Linked DNA regions of Homo sapiens: all the other regions are linked to region 1. Evidence: promoter capture Hi-C in 16 types of primary human blood cells and fetal thymus (Javierre and others, 2016). All regions are on one chromosome and are shown on one strand. The core of a region is centred on a gene start or on the middle of the fragment in contact, and the rest is flanking DNA. Distances in the headings are between cores, read along the strand shown.

Evidence for each region. The method cuts DNA at HindIII sites, captures the fragments that hold promoters and counts their contacts. A CHiCAGO score of 5 or more calls a contact.
Region 2: a contact is called between a fragment that was not itself captured here and the fragment with the promoter of EMC4 in region 1, in 7 of 17 cell types (non-activated CD4 T cells, naive CD8 T cells, fetal thymus and 4 more). The highest score is 10.2, in non-activated CD4 T cells.
Region 3: a fragment that was not itself captured here is called in contact with the fragment with the promoter of EMC4 in region 1 in 1 of 17 cell types (total CD8 T cells); the score reaches 5.6 in total CD8 T cells.
Region 4: a fragment that was not itself captured here is called in contact with the fragment with the promoter of EMC4 in region 1 in 1 of 17 cell types (total CD4 T cells); the score reaches 5.0 in total CD4 T cells.

The regions. Positions count from the first base shown.
Region 1 is chr15:34,222,924-34,227,219 of GRCh38, reverse strand. EMC4 (ER membrane protein complex subunit 4) reads right to left here and starts at 2,204. Exons shown (of 5, transcript NM_016454.4): 1 at 2,020-2,204; 2 at 1,570-1,684. The coding sequence starts at 2,105. RefSeq lists an enhancer at 1,841-1,890. The HindIII fragment of the contact is 12,421 bases long and covers 1-2,708 here.
Region 2 is chr15:34,589,296-34,593,541 of GRCh38, reverse strand. No RefSeq gene overlaps it. Among named protein-coding and RNA genes, the nearest start is that of GOLGA8B, 7.8 kb to the right of the region's middle. The HindIII fragment of the contact is 8,309 bases long and covers 1-4,246 here.
Region 3 is chr15:34,608,463-34,612,565 of GRCh38, reverse strand. No RefSeq gene overlaps it. Among named protein-coding and RNA genes, the nearest start is that of GOLGA8B, 27 kb to the right of the region's middle. The HindIII fragment of the contact is 1,108 bases long and covers 1,315-2,422 here.
Region 4 is chr15:34,490,177-34,494,359 of GRCh38, reverse strand. It overlaps the pseudogene HNRNPLP2 and the pseudogene FSCN1P1. Among named protein-coding and RNA genes, the nearest start is that of MIR1233-2, 36 kb to the left of the region's middle. RefSeq lists an enhancer at 3,373-3,874. The HindIII fragment of the contact is 529 bases long and covers 1,210-1,738 here.

The DNA of each region.
Region 1 (4,296 bases), core at 955-3,454:
ATGTAACACTGCACTCAACAATTGCAGAATTCACATTCTTTTCAAACAAGATATTCACAAAAACTGACCACTCGCTGAGCCATGAAGAAAATGTCAATCTCAAAGAATGCAAATTGTACAAAACATATTCTTTGACTACAATGATATTAAACTAGAAATAATTTTATAGTAACTAGAAAATCTCTTATGTTTGGGAATTAACAATGATACATGAAGAAATTATAATGGAAAATAGATTTATATGATAGCAAAAGTACCACATTTTAAAACTCGTGGGACACAGCTAGAGTTCTGAGAAATTTATAACCTTAAATACATACTACCAGGTTGCTGCAAAAGTAACTGCGGTTGTTGCCATTAAAAGTAATGGCAATGTGGCCGGGCGCGGTGCCTCACACCTGTAATCCCAGCACTTTGGGAGGCCGAGCTTGGTGGATCACCTGAGGTCAGGAGTTTCAGACCAGCCTGGCCAACGTGGTGAAACCCCGTCTCTACTAAAAATACAAAAAAATTAGCTGGACGTGGTGGTGGGTGCCTATAATCCCAGCTACTCGGGAGGCTGAGGCAGGAGAATTGCTTGACCCTGGGAGGCAGAGGTTGCAGTGAGCCAAGGTCGTGCTATTGCATTCCAGCCTCGGCGACAACAGCAAGACTGTCTCAAAAGAAAAGAAAAAAAGTAATGGCAGTCTAAAAATAAACTAAGCATCCATTTCAAGAAACTAGAAAAAAACCCAAGTATTTTTGAAAAGATTAATAAAATCAATACTGGTGATGGGTACAGTGACCTGTAAAAATAAATGAAAATAATTTTTAAAAAATCAATACTGGTGAGCCTGATGAAGAAAGGAGAGGAGACAAAATATTCAATATCAGGAATGAAAAAATGAACATCACAGATCTTGCATATATGGAAGTGATCATATTATGAACAACTTTATATCAATACATTTGAAATTTTAGGAAATGGATAAGTTTCTAGAAAAAATGTAACAAAATGACAGGAGAAATTAGAAATATAAATAGCCCCGGGCCGAGCGCGGTGGCTCATGCCTGCAATCCCAGCACTTTGGAAGGCCAAGGCGGATGGATCACCTGAGGTCAGGAGTTCAAGACCAGCCTGGCAAACATGGTGATACCCTGTCTGTACTAAAAATACAAAAATTAGCCGGGCTACTGCAGAAATCTAGATGAAGGATGGTGGCTTGGATTAGGATGAGAGGTGAACACAGGAAAAAGTAGTAGGTAAAGCCAACAGAGTATCCTGACAGTTGGATATGTGGTGTAAGGGAACCAGAGTAGAAAAAGGATCACTTCAACTGGAAGATGTTGCCACCAAAAGATAGTTTTCAACCTACTTTCTTATACCTTATGTTCCAAACATCTTCTATTTTTCAAATTATTAAGCACTTTTGTAGCTGATATATAAAATACCGAAATACCAGCCTCAAGCAGTTTAGTTTCCAAATCTTCAGGATAAGAGCTATCTACGTTAACTCCACCTAGGAGAAGAGGATGAGTGTGTAACTCAGGACTGGCCCATGGGCTACGGTAACATCTATACCTCTGTACCTTCTCCACCAGGATCCGGTCTGTCTCTTGCACGCTGGTATCAGGCACTTGCTTGTCCAAGTAACCGACTGGGTAGAGCGAGTCTCCCTGGCCACTGCCCCGGTCACTTCGACCCCTAAAAAACCAAACCAAGAAACTAAAGCTGCAACCTCCGATACTTCTTATCCCACATTTCCTGATCTACCAATCATAGGAATAAAGATCTTCAGATGCACCTACTCAGATTAGACCAAGCCCCCTCGTATGTTCCTCAGTCCTTTGACTTATCAGGAGGACTGATGTAAGCATTGTTTGAGCAGAGAAACTTCCACGGCAGAAAAGCCGCTACCTCCCCAGGTGATGTCTGTGTGCCACCCATCTTTTTCAGAGTTATGCCTGAGGGCTCAGGTCTCATTACTCTGGTGCAGTTCTGGGATGAACAGTGATGTACAGCTTGCCCAGGTGCCTCACCTGCTGCCTCCTCCAGGCCCGCTTAGCTCAATGGCCCACTTGAAGCGCCGGCCTCGGTTAGCCACCAGGCCCCCCTGGGCCGTCATGGCAACAGCTGCGTCCTATAGCCTCGATGCTTCTCAGTCCAAAGCGTACTCCACAACAGGCCCACCAGCGTTCTCCGCTTTGTCTCACTCTGCAAATGCACTTCCGGCGCGTGAATACGACGTCATTTCCGCCCTGGAAATTGGTGGTGCTGTGGGTTGAGGAGTCCGGGTTTGGATTTAGAAAAGCAGGGAGGAAAAAAAACCAGGCAAGACTTAGTGCTTCCTAAAGCCACTTCCGCGCGCTCCCCTTTTGAATGTCCTTGTTATGTGTTCCCTGACCTCTGAGGTGCACTTTATGGGGCTGAAGGAAAGCCCATACTGACTCAGCGTTAAGAATTGGTGGGCGGATCACCTGAAGTCAGGAGTTCGAGACCAGCCTGGCTAACATGGTGAAACCCCGTCTCTACTAAAAATACAAAATATTAGCCGGGCTTAGTGGCGGGCGCCTGTAATCCCAGCTACTTAGGAGGCTGAGGCAGGAGAATCGCTTGGATCCGGGAGCCGGAGGTTGCAGTGAACTGAGACCGAGCGATTGCACGCCAGCCTGGGCAGCAAGAGCGAAACTCTGTCTCAAAAAAAAAAAAAAGGAAGCCAAGAAAAGCTTCTTAACCTCCTACGCGCTCCCTGGAACAAAAGATTCAAATCCTGGGTTTAAATCCTAGCTTGACCTTGAGCGAGTTACTTAGTAGTTTCTGAGTATTGAATGTCCACTGTGTCATGTGTTTATTTCATTTCACTTGCACAGTAACCTTGCGAGGTAAACAGTTCTAACCACATTCTGCACAAAGGCAAGGCAGCATTGTGGGCATGGAAGGGGACATGGGCTCGGTATTCAGTTAGCCTGCGTTTGTTGTTGTTTGTTTTGGGTTTGTTTTTTGAGACAGGGTTTCACTCCGTTGCCGAGGCTGTAGTGCAGTGGCGCTATCACGGCTCACTGCAGCCTCGACTTCCCCGGCTCAAGCGATCTTCCCACCTGAGCGTTCCTTCCAACCTGAGCGTTCCGAGGAGCTAGGACCACAGGGCGCGCCACCACGCCCCAGTCTTGTTTTGTTTTGTTTTGTTTTGTTTTGACAGGGTTTCGCTATGTTGCTCAGGCTGCTCTCAAACTCTTGGGTTCAAGTGATTCTCCTGCCTTGGCCTCCCAAAATGTTGAGATTACAAAGGCATGGGCCACTGCACCCAGCAGATGGCCTCCTTTTGAATCCTGGTTTCACCACTTAATAATTGTATGACCTTGGGCAAGTTGAATTTGTTTCAGCCTCTTCATGTAAAAGTTGGATAATCTACCTACTTTCAAGGCTTGTGAGATTAGTGCCCACCACATATCTGGTGTTTGGTTTGTTTGTGTTTTTGTTCGAGACGGAGTTTTGCTTTTGTTGCCCAGGCTGGAGTGCAATGGCACTATCTCGGCTCACTGCAACCTCCGTCTCCCGGGTTCAAGCAATTCTCCTGCCTCAGCCTCCCGAGTACCAGGGATTACAGGCGCACGCCACCACGTCCAGCTAATTTTGTATTTTTAGTAGAGATGGGATTTCACCGTGTTGGTCAGGCTGGTTTCGAACTCCCGACCTCAGGTGATCTGCCTGCCTCGGCCTCCCAAAGTGCTAGGTTATGTGGTGTTTTTAATGATGTATCACATCATTACCAAATAACACCATTGATGTGTTTTTAATGACGTGTCATTAAATAATGTATGTCATTCTTTAAAGTGATTGGGTTTTGTATGGTATACCTTTTTCATAATATAGCCTATTATTGGACATTTAAATTGTTTCCTGTTTTCCTTCCTTTTATAACCAGTGTTGCTGTGAACATATCTGTATGTCTTTTCTTATTTCCTAAAGTTATAGTCCTAGAAGTGAAATTGGAGTTGCTGGATCAAAGAGTATGCACATTTTTAAAGAATTTTCATTTTAAATGCCCACAGGAGCCAGGCGTGGTGGCTCACACCTGTCATCCCAGAACTTTGGGAGGCTGAGGCAGGAGGATTGCTTTAGCTCAGAAGTTCAAGACCAGCCTAGGCAACATAGTGAGACCTTGCCTCTGCAAACAACAACAAAAAAAATTAAAATGTCCACTAGGAAAAATGGCACCATTTACATTTCACAGTCTATAATTTTTTTAATAGTTTGAAATGGTACTGTATTATTTTTTAATTTGTATTTCTTTGACTCCAAGTTATTCGATATGG
Region 2 (4,246 bases), core at 311-2,810, 370 kb before region 1:
CAACTCTAAACACTTCTATTCAACATTTAGTTGATGTTCTAAATAGTTCAAAATAACAAGAAAAATTAATAAATGCTATTCAGAGTAGACAGCAAATGCAAAACTGTATTTACAGACAATATGATTGTCTACATAGAAAATCCTATAGAATCTAAAAAGGAGACATTAAAACTAATTAGAAACTTTAGCAATTTTGTAGGATCAACATAAACACATTAGTCATATTTCTATACACTACTAATGAACATTGGAAATTGAAATAAAAGTAATTGTACCATTTGCAATAGCCTCAAAAAAAAAAAAAGAGAAACACTTATGGATAAATGTAACAAAAGATGTGCCAGACCTGAGGACTGAAAACTTCAAAACATTGCTAAGAAAGAATGATGAAAACCCTAGTAAATGGAGAAGCATTTATAGATTGAAAGACCCAATATTGGCCGGGCACGGTGGCTCACGCCTGTAATCCCAGCACTTTGGGAGGCCGAGGTGGGCAGATCGCGAGGTCAGGAGATCGAGACCATCCTGCCTAACACGGCAAAACCCTGTCTCTACTAAAAATACGAAAAATTAGCCGGGCGTGGCGGCGGGTGCCTGTAGTCCCAGCTACTCGGGAGGCTGAGGCAGGAGAATGGCGCGAACCCGGGAGGCAGAGTTTGCAGTGAGCCGAGATCGCGCCACTGCACTCCAGCCTGGGTGACAGAGCGAGACTCCGTCTCAAAAAAAAGAAAAAATAAAACAAAAGACCCAACATTATTAAGAGATCAATTCTCCCCCAAGCAATGAAATAATCAAATGTAAAAGCAAATGAACTTCAATCCTTAATTCGCATTGTATATAACACATAATTTGAAAGGGATTTTTGACATAAATATTATAGTTTAAAGAAGAAAAATTTCCAGAATAAGATATAGGAGAAATAACCAACATGGAGAAACTCTGTCTCTACTAAAAATATAAAATTAGCTGGGCGTGGTGGCACATGCCTGTAATCCCAGCTACTCAGGAAGGCTGAGGCAGAAGAATCGCTTGAACCCGGGAGGCAGAGATTGCGGTGAGCCGAGATCGCGCCACTGCACTTCAGCCTGGGCAACAAGAGCGAAACTCGGTCTCAAAAAAAAGATTTAAAAAAAAAAAGGTATAGGAGAAATATTTATGATCATTGGTATGGTAAAAATTCTTAATCACGATATGAAAAACACAACACATACACAAAGTGAAAAGACAAGCCACAAACCTAGAGAAATGGTTTTTTAAACACATATTTAATGTATATAAAAACCTTTCAATAATCAATAAAAACCTCATTAAAAAATCAAATAGGCACTCTCAAAAAGATGTACAGGTAGCAAAAAAGCAAAGCGAGTAAGGAAGGGAGAGCAGGAGGGAAGCTCAGAGAGGTCACTGGGAACTAAGTACTGCAGGACTTATTAGGCCATCCTAAGGCTTTCAAGTTCATTCTGAGAAATACAAAAACTTTGGGGCCAGGATTGGGGTGGTTCATGCCTGTAATCCCAGCACTCTGGGAGGCCAAGGCAGGTGCATCACAAGGTCAGGAGTTCGAGACCAGCCTGACCAACATGGTGAAACCCTGTCTCTACTAAAAATACAAAAACTAGCCAGGCATGGTGGCGGGCGCCTGTAATCCCAGCTACTCAGGAGGCTGAGGCAGAAGAATCGCTTGAACCCAGGAGGCAGAGGTTGTGGTGGGCCGAGATCATACCACTGCACTCCAGCCTGGATGACAAAGCGAGACTCTGTCAAGAAAAAAGAAAGAAAAGAAAGAAAAGAAGGAAGGAAGGAAGGAACTGACTTTGAATTATTGTAGTAGAGGGTGATGGACCTGACACAGATTTCCGGTCAGGAAAGGAAGAAAGGAAGGCAGGCAGGCAGGCAGGCAGGCAGGCAGGAAGAAAATGACTTTGAATCATTGTAGCAGAGGGTGATGGACCTGAAACAGATTTCCGCTTTGTTAGGAACAGATTATGCAGGGCAGGGGGAGGAGCAGAGAAGCAAGGGTGGAAGTAGGGAGAGCGGTTGGAATTAACGATGGAATCTCAGCAAAAGATTCAGAAATCCCAGAGGGAGATGATAGTGTACCACACCCGGGTGAAAGATGGCTGCATTTTGAATGTATTTAGAAGATCTGTGCAGATGGGCTGAATGCAGATTAATGTGGAATGTGGATAAGGTGAAAAGTCAAGATTGAAGACAAGATTTTGAGTCTGGGGAACAGAAAGCTGGAATTAGCATAAAAATGTGTTAATGACTGAGATCAAGGGTTTAGGAGAGAAGATCAGTTTTGTTTTGAACATCTGAAGTTTCAGATATTTATAGACATTGAGCTGAATATGCCAAGTAAGCAGTTGGATATACAAGCCTGAAATTTGTGAAAGACTGGGTTCATAAAATAAATATGTTAATCAATATCATATTGATGTATTTAAAGGCATAAGTCTGAATGATATCCTCAAGATTGCAAAGAGTACGTCAGTGGTTTTCAGCTGAAGGCAATTATTTCTCCCCAGGGTACAGCTGGCAATGTCTGAAGACATTTTTGGTTGTCACAGTTGGGGAATGAATTACTAGTGGCATCTAATAGGTAGAGGCTATTAGAGACCAGGGATGCTGCTGAACATCCTACAATGCACAGGATAGCCCCACATATAAAGAATTGTCTGACCCAAAATGTCAGCAGAGCCATGGTTTAGAAAGCCTGCTTCAAAGGGTTTCTAAGAGAAGAGAACGGAACCAGAGCCTGGGCTCTCAGGTGTACCAATATTAAAGATGGCGGAGAGAAGGGGAGAAATTAACAATGGAGGTTAGGAAAGATGACCAGTGAGAAAGAATCACAACCAAGAGAATGTGGAATCCGTGCAGCCACGAGAAGAAATGTACCAAACAACAGGGAGAAATAAAAAGTGTCAAATGCTGCTGCTAGGCCAAATAAAAAGATACTCAAGTAACCACCACTGGGCTTAGCAATGCAGAGGTCACTGGTGACATTAAACAAAGAAGTTTCGGTAGAGCAGTGTGAGGTGAAAGCAACTTCCGAATGTTCGGCAACATACGATACATTTTCTGATCTGGTTATTGCCAACCTTTGAATTCAAAAATTAAACTAAAAATCATATATGGCTATAACCATAGCATAGTGAATCAGCTACTCTCTGACATCCTAATCAAATAGGTAATTTTAAGTGGGATGACTTTTTCCTGCTTTATTCCTCCCACTCCCCAGTTTACAACTTGTTAAATCGACTGGAATAAAATTAATATCTACCCAGAGACACAGGACTTTTTACTCAGATGAAGAATATTTTTCAAATAATTCTTTTGATACCAATTTTTTTAATCTTCAAACTTAAAAAAGACAATCTCAAATAAAATTATACTATATTTTGAATAGATGAACACTAAACTATTTTTTATATATACTTTAAGTTCTAGGGTACATGTGCACAACGTGCAGATTTGTTACATATGTATACATGTGCCATGTTGGTTAGCTGCACCTATTAACTCGTCATTTACATTAGGTATTTCTCCTAATGCTATCCCTCCCCCATCCCCTCACCCCACGACAGGCCCCGGTGGATGAACACTAAACTTTTTAACTATCAGGATTGTCCATTTTATATCCTTACTTTTAGTGGCTTAAATAAACCTCATTTTCTTTTATGGCAGTACATGTTTCTCACCTCTGTTCACAGAGTTTCTAATCTGTCTCTGATTTAATATGTCTCATAGTTTCTAATATGCCTCTGCTTTAAAGTACTTCCTAAAAATTTTATCCACACTACAGACTACAACTTGTCCATCTGGGAAGACATTATCTAAATACATTTATGATTGTAAATTCTCTTTTAGGACCTTTATATTAACCCCACACCCCGCCATTGGTAAGAAATCATATTTGAGAAAAATGTGGGAAAGCTAGCATTTGATTTGATGGCATTAATCACTGATATACAGATGTGCTAATTATTGACTTCAGCAGAACTTTTAACACAACTACTTTAATGAGTTTTTGAAGGGGAAAATGTTGGTTATATACTTTCTGACAAAAAATAGTCAAGCACGGTAGCTCACACCTATAATCCCAGCACTTTGTGAGGCCGTGGCAGGTGGATCACTTGAGGTCAGGAGTTCGAGACCAATCTCACCAATATGGTGAAACCCCATCTCTACTAAAGGAAAAAAAATACAAAAATTAGCCGGGTGTGGTGGCATGTGCCTATGACTC
Region 3 (4,103 bases), core at 619-3,118, 390 kb before region 1:
CACCCATGCCTATTTTGTGTAGGTGATCAATTCATTTGTCAAGAGTGCTTTTATAATTATGCATGAAAATGCACAACAGATTGTCATTCCTCAAAAATGCTACTATTATCACCTGTAATTAAGTCTACCAAATTTACACTAGAAAAAAAAAACACAGAGAGAACAATGGGTAGTTGTTAGATCATTTAGCAACCAGAGGTAAAAATTAGTAGCAGAAACAAAATTGTTGTTATTTCTCAAATTATTTTTCAAAGGACGTTGTTGCCTTATTAACTAATATTTGATTGGGGTCATTTACAACCATTAATCTAGAAAAGAAATTCTTTTACTGCAATGTGCCTCCTCTATGTACGTGTGTGAATGAGTGTCTGTCCATTTTCTTTATTTAAAGTTCCAAGTTACTTATTCATTCATTAGGTAATCTTTTCACATGGAACAAAATTTTTGTGGTAATTTATGATAATTGAAAAAAAAAGATTTGGCGTGATTATAAACCTATTTAGATATTTCTGCCTGCATCTATATCATATCAAAAAAAGTAAAATCTGTTGATTCTCACAACTTACTAGCCAAGTCTTAGATGCTGGTTGAAAATGAAGATACCTGGGTTAGTTCCCAAAAACTGTGATTAATTTGGTTGGGAGTAGGAGCTAGAAGTCTATTCTTAAGAAACTGTAGTGAATCTGATATTAGTTGGTGTGGGAAACAGGCTTAGAGAAATATCGATCTATTGCAAAAGGCGCACTTCTCTTTGGACACCTGAAAAAAACAGCATGCATTAAATGCATTAAAACTCTATTAAGGATACTTCCATAAAATGGTTCCAAAAATATATTGATATAGCATATAAGATTTTGATAATTTTCAGGGTAATGCTGATAATGTTTTTAAATAAATCAGTTCATTTGTTTTGGCTTTTCCTTCTCCCTGTTTCTTGCTAAATATTGTAGATCTGCCACCTTTTAAAAAATAGATGACACTTCCACTTCCCACTCCCACTAATATACTTACAGCTCGTCTTCAGTGAAAATTCTATTGAATGTTCTTGTGCTCCAACAGAAAGGAAAAACACAGTAGCACTTTATTACTTAATGTTGGAGAAGTTACTCACCTTGTCTGAAATTTATTTCCTGTCCTGTAAAATTGTGCTAATACAGTACAGTGTTATTTTAAGGATCAAATTTAAAAATGCATGTGAAAGGTCTTTCGAAAATAAAGAGGTGTTGTAAGAATGTGAGGCATCACCCCCCCGCCATGCATTCATTTGAATCATGCCATTTAAGAATTTTTTTATTGTGTTAAAGTAAAAAAGCTTTTAAAAATGAATTAAACCAAAGTAAAGTTGAATTAAATTAAAAATTAACACTATCAAAACCCTATTCTGCTATTCTATGAAAAAATAAATTCACTAAACAAAAAATATACTGCATTTGGCCAGGTGTGGTGGCTCATGACTGTAATCCTACCACTTTGGGAGGCCGAAGCGGGTGGATTGTCTGAGCTCAGGAGTTCGAGACCAGCCTGGGCAACATGGTGAAACCCAGTCTCTACTAAAACACAAAAAATTAGCCGGGCGTGGTGGCGGGCGCCTGTAGTCCCAGCCACTCGGGAAGCTGAGGCACAAGAATTGCTTGAATCCAGGAGGTGGAGGTTGCAGTGAGCTGAGATCACACCACTGCACTCCAGTCTGGGTGACAGAGACAAGACTTGGTCTCCAAAAAATTTAAAAAAAAAAAGTATTGCATTGTTGAAGGTTCACACAGAACAAAACATGCTGTTTAAATTTTTCCACTTATTTGTAAAAAGGAGAATCTTAGTCCACTGCTGAAGAAGAACATTTTCATGAATGTTTTGCTTGAGCTTGCAAAGCTAAACAAACCTCTGGTACTTTATATAAGAGAGATATTCTTAGAAGCCTCTGCCACCTAGTGTACAAAGGCCATCCTAGAAATCTGAATGACTTGGTTTAATTGCCTTATCTGCTACATCTTGTCTTCAGAGAATTATCTTTAAGTATATCTAGGTCAGATTTGAAGTTATAATTTGAGGTGGGAATAACACACACTGCATTTTCTAAAGAGCATCTGGCATGAGAATCAATACATTTCATTTTCATTTTAGCAGCACTTTAAAGTCCCATTTATAAATGTTTTAATAAGGCAGTAAGAGACTCCTGGGTGTGTTTTAGTCTTTCATTAATATATACCTCTTGTGTGTTGCAAGATACATGCTTACTGAATAAGCCTTTGACCATTCAAAGTCAAATTAATGATCCAATAAAGCAAAGCCCATGGTATCTTAATGGCAGCAAAATACACTCTTTAATTTAGAAGATAAAATATTATATTATATTTTCCTCTCCAACAACTCGTAAGTATATGCATAAAAGAAGTATCAAGGGATTCAAAGAAATAGCGAAGCTTCTTTAGCCATATTTTTACACACAACATGTCTCCCCACCTCTCATTTTTAGCTTTAGATTTAATTATTTCCAGCTCAGTTTTACAGAGGAGTGGAAGGTGGAACTTGAGGGTTGGCAGTGGAGGGGTTTGTAAAGCTATACTCTTTAAAAATGTGTTTAAAAGTAAAACGTCAACCACACCGCTTCCTCTTTCCGTCCTGTCATTGTTTTCAAGGCACCCACTCCCCTGCCCAGTTTGCTAAAGGCAGAGGGAGATGTGTGAAGGTTATGTTCTGCCGTGTGGTTCAGAGAAGCAAAATTTTCCCGCAGCTCTAAATCAGTTCACAATGAACTAGATCTCAGCAATGAGCTTTCGCTGTCTGCTCATTCTGCTACCTGACATTCGTGAGAGGAACCAGATGGCCCTCATGTCAATCTGGCCTGCCAGGTTTGGTACTGAGATTTCATCTCCTTCCCTTCAGCTGCCTGAGCCTGAGTGAAGTTCACATGCACACATCTCCAGTAAAATCTCACTGTAATGTGCAGGTCTTTCTTGCACTTTTGCCCTGCCAAACCTGCCTCTCTTAGGGACTCAAGACGGCATAATGCCTTGTTATTTTAATGTGCTCTGCAATGATTGAACTGTTCTCAGGAGATCATTTTTGCACATCAAAACCCATTAAAATTAGCAAGAATTGTCGGGAAATGAGCAAATAAAAAAGAATAATTCATCTCTCTCTCTCTCTGTTTTAAATTCGCCAAGCCTCCTTTTGATGGCTAAAAGCAACTGGTAGCAGAAAGCATGCATCAGTTTAAAAAAAAATTAGCTTTAAGCAAAAGATGTCAAGAAATTCTTCCAAATTATGTGTTATGATAGCAAGCTGGTGAGCACTGGGATAAAAACCCATGTCATAATTGTAGAGGATGTGCTAAGACGTCGGGGGAGCAAAATCCATGAGTGAGTACAGATGATACCTATAGCAGTACTACTGCATCTTTCTGGGGAAAACATGCAGCAAACATCCTGATCAGAGACTAACAGGCCCTCACAAGAGTGACCTTTTTTTAAAATTGAGAATAATTTTTATTGTTAAGAAAGCATAACCAGCAATAAAAGTACTATTTTTGGTTCTAAATGATAGAAAACCAAATATATTTTGTTCATGGTACAAGGAAGCCTAAGGTCAAGTTGATTACAGAAGCAACTAGTTCCAGATATTCAATAAGATCTTCATCTCTCTTCTGTTTCTGTTGTATTTCTATCTGGGCATCTGTCTCCTTTTCTCCGTGTATCTTTGCCCCTGTATAGTTCTTTCTGCATATCTCTCTGCATTTTCTGTCTCTGTCCCCCTGTTGTGTCTCTTTCACTGCAGTGCCTTTCTATTTTTCTAATTTATTGTCACTATTTATCTGCATTTTTCTATCTCTGTGTTTCTTTATGCATATCTCTATTTTTCTGCATTTCTCTTCCTTATCACCTCATATCTTTTCTCATCTCTCTCCCTCTGTGTGTGTGTGTGTATGTGTTTGTGTGTGTGTGTCTGTCTCTGTTACATATGTTTCTAGAATGTCTACCAGAGACAATTTAACAATTTTAGGAAATTTAATTTAACAATTAATTTAAAACTTAATTTAACAATCTAACAATTATTAAACTTAATTTAACAATCTTAGGAAAGATTCTGATTGGCCAAGCCTGGGT
Region 4 (4,183 bases), core at 225-2,724, 270 kb before region 1:
CGGCGCCCCTGCTCCTTTGTTCGGCGGCCGGGGCGCGCACGCACCTCCCGCAGCGCTCCACCAAAACGTTTTAAAATCATTTCAGTTAACAGATTTAAACAGAGTTTAGCTATGAAGCAATGAGTAATGGAATACAAACTAGTGAAAAAGATGAACAACTAGGGATTAAATGTTGAGGAAAATTCTTTTCTAATGAATTAATTTTGAATCGATAAGAGACAAAGAATAGGGACTTTTAAATATACAACTTTGGTGACAAAGTATTTGTCTATACAAGTTTCTTATGTCTAGTGCCTTCCTTACCTCCCCAATATTATTTTATAACTCTCTGATAATTTCTAAAAGATACATATGAGATATTCATATCTAAAAAAGTCACCAATATTTTGAACTAGTATCAAAAATAAAGAAGTATTTGACATAGGTTTATTTACTGGTTTTTACATAAATAAAATACAAATATAAATCACAACAGCAAAGATAATAATTAAAAACTGCATACTCACCTTAGGGTTTTTAAATAAGCTAATTGTTTTTCTTCTACACAAATAGCTAAAAATGTACAGTGAATACAAATGTACTTAATTTCTCCTTCTTTTTCTATATTTTGATTGGCTAGTGAACTGTCAAAAAGTGATGATGCTGAATTTTTGCTATTTTCTCTCTAAAGTGATGTTCTGAAAGAAATATATATATAATTTGCGGTTGTGAAGAAGCCCTTTTTTTAGTGCTAATTTATTTCCTTTGCGTACTTTGCAGTGGACATACATGTTAAAAATTTAACAGAAAGAAGAGGATAAAATAATCATGACATGAAGCCCTTTTAGAAATTAGCAATGTTCTCTATTAATAATGGTGTGATGATATGCCACTCCATGAGCTCTTGAACCAAGTTATTCATTATTTCTCTGCCACATGGAAGCAGGATATTTGGTCTTTGTCCTATCTCAATGCGATGCCTATGGTTTTGTTACAGAAACCTTAATTTTGCCTGCTTTTAAGTAAAGCAGTTTTTATGCAGACTTCTCAGAGGGCAGCCAGATAACTTTCAAGCACATTTGAAACACCAGAGGTGACTCTGCCAAGTGCCCCAGAGAAAAATTCAAACTATGATAAAGACACTTCTTCAACCCATCTTTCTAAAGTTGCTGACTCTACAGGTTTATTATAAGCATTAGACGAAACCAGTGAGAGGCATGTGTCAAAGCTTGAATGTGCAGCTCCAGGTTAGAATGTCAGCTTTTCCTTTGGGTTACTGAAGAAGGAGAAAAGCCATTATCCATGCATGAAACAATAAGATATATGGCCAATGAAATGGAAGGCATACATTTGGTAATCCAATCCCAATATTTGCCATTTGCTTTAGTGGGGCTAAAATAGGTCACTTAAGTGGTTTATGCTCCACCTTCTAGAAGTGAGCAGAAAAATATTTTAAATTAATGGTTATTTTACCATCAGCATTTTTTTAAAATTGAAAATGGAACACCGGTTTTATAACTAGTTTCTTCATTTTATTATTTAATGAGGTGGCTAGCCTTGATTTGAAAGGTTTTTTCTAACATGACTAGCTTTCTGACACTCTAATGCCCATTTTCTAAGACTTCTGTGCTGTAAGCTATTTTAACAAAGGGTAAGTGGTATGTCTTTAAATTCTGATTTTAGAGGAATTCCTAAGTTCTCACTACTTTCACATATTATTTTATCTACTGTGGAATGATAACTTTGTTAACATGAAGCTTTTCAAGCTGTCACTGTATTCCATCGGGTATTTCGGTTGGTTCATCAAAGTGAAATGAAATGAAAATGCAGGAAAAACAAATGAATAGAACACAATTAAGAGTAATTCATTTTGGCCAGGTCCGGTGGCTCATGCCTGTACTACCAGCAGTTTGGGAGCTCAGGAGTTAGAGACCAGCCTGGCCAACCTGGTGAAACCCCGTCTCTACTAAAAATACAAAATGTAGCCAGGCGTCATGGTGCACGCCTTCTGGTACTGGAAGGCTGAGGCAGGAGAATCACTTGAACCTGGGAGGTGGAGGTTGCAGTGAGCCGAGATCATGCCACTGCACTCCAGCCTGGGCGACAGAGCGAGATTCCCTCTCAGAAAAAAAAGACTAATTCATTGAAACACCAGTTTGTAAAGCATCAGGGATGCTTTTCTCTTGTTAACTACAACATTGTTGTTGAAAACTCTGCTAAAATTTCACATTCTTTTTTTAAAAAGGTAAATGAATTTTAATAACGTATTATGCATAAAAATTATTTAAAGTTGACATTAATATAAAACTTATTGAGCTACTTTAAAGTTTTTTTCACTTCCTTTTTAAACTTTTATTTTAGGTTCGGGGGTACAAGTGCAGGTTTGTTACATAGGTAAACTTTTGTCATGGGGGTTTGTGGTACAGATTATTTCATCATCCACGTATTGAGCCTAGCACCCATTAGTTATTTTCCCTGATGATCTCCCATCTCTCTGCCTCCTCTCTCTGAAAGTCCCCAGTGTGTGTCGTTCCCCTCTGTGTGTCCATGTGAGTTCTCATCATTTAGCTCCCACTTACAAGTGAGAACATGTGGTGTTTTTCTCTTCCTATATTAGTTTGCTAAGGATAATAGCCTCCAGCTCCATCCATGTCCCTGCAAAAGACATGGTCTCTGTTCTTTTTTATGGCTGCATAGTATTCCATGGCATATATGTACCACATTTTCTTGATCCAGTGTGTCACTGATTGCCATTTTGGTTGGTTCCATGTCTTTGCTATTGTGAATTGTGCTGCAGTGTACATATGCATGCATGTGTCTTTATAACAGAATGATTTATATTCCTTTAAGTATATACCCAGTAATGGGATTGCAGGGTCCAATGCTATTTCTGTCTTTAGGCTTTTGAGGAATTGCCACACTGTCTTCCACAATGGATGAACTAACTTACACTCCCACTAACAGTGTATAAGCATTCCTTTTTCTTCACAACTTCACCAGCATCTGTTATTTTTTGACTTTTTAGTAATAGCCATTCTGGTTGGTGTAAGATGGTATCTCATTGTAGTCTTGATTTGTATTTCTCTAATTATCATGAACAGACAGTTTTGAAATTTTTACAATCTTATGAAGACAAATGAATACAGAATTTTCTGAGCTGGGGTACAAATGGCTTTTCTGGGGCAAGATTATAGAGATTAACAAAATGAGATGGGGAGAAATTGAGCTACATTATTGTCAAATTTAGCTTGCTGGGAGTAAAAAACAAAAAACCAACAAAACTGAAGTCTTGCACTTATTAGTAACTATTTCTGGCTTCCTTCCCTCTGCTAAACATGGATTGTCAGATTTCTCTCTGTGAGTTGTCCTCATCCACTACTAGAGTCAGTCAATGGCCCTACACTGTATTCCCTGGCAATGATTTTGCAAGGAGTTTCGTTCAGGTTCTTAACACTTTAAGATAATGTCAACATTCTTCCTTAACTTCTCTCTGCTTCCAATGTCTTCCATTTCTAATCCGCCCTGCACACAGAACATTTTATTTATCCTTCTTAAATACAGAAACTACTCTCAATTGTCTACAGGATAAAGCACCAACCTTTTAAACTTTACCAAACTAACTTGGAAAAGTAATTTCCTGGGAGAAGCGGCGTCGGCGGCTGGAGCAGAGGCAGCAGCGGGAGGAGCAGCAGAGGCGGTCGGGAGCGATGAAGATGGCGGCGGGGGGCGGCAGAGGCGGCGGTGGCGGCTACTAAGGCGGCGGCAGTGAGGGCGGCGGTGCCCCTAAGCGGCTCAAGACTGGCAACGCCGGCGACCAGCACGGAGGCGGCGGCGGCGGCGGTGGCGGTGGAGGAGGCGGGGCGGCGGGGGCGGCGGCGGGGAGAACTACCATGACCTGCACAAAACCCCTGCCTCCCCAGTTGTCCACAGCAGGGGCCTGATTGACGATGTGGTGGAAGCTGACCTTGTGGAGGCCTTGCAGGAGTTTGGACCCATCAGCTATGCGGTGGTAATGCCTAAAAAGAGACAAGCACTGGTGGAGTTTGAAGATGTGTTGGGGGCTTGCAACGCCGTGAGCTACGCAGCCGACAACCAAATATACATTGCCGGTCACCCAGCTTTTGTCAACTACTCTACCAGCCAGAAGATCTCCCTCCCCGGGGACTCGGATGACTCCCGGAGCGTGAACAGTGTGCTTCTCTTT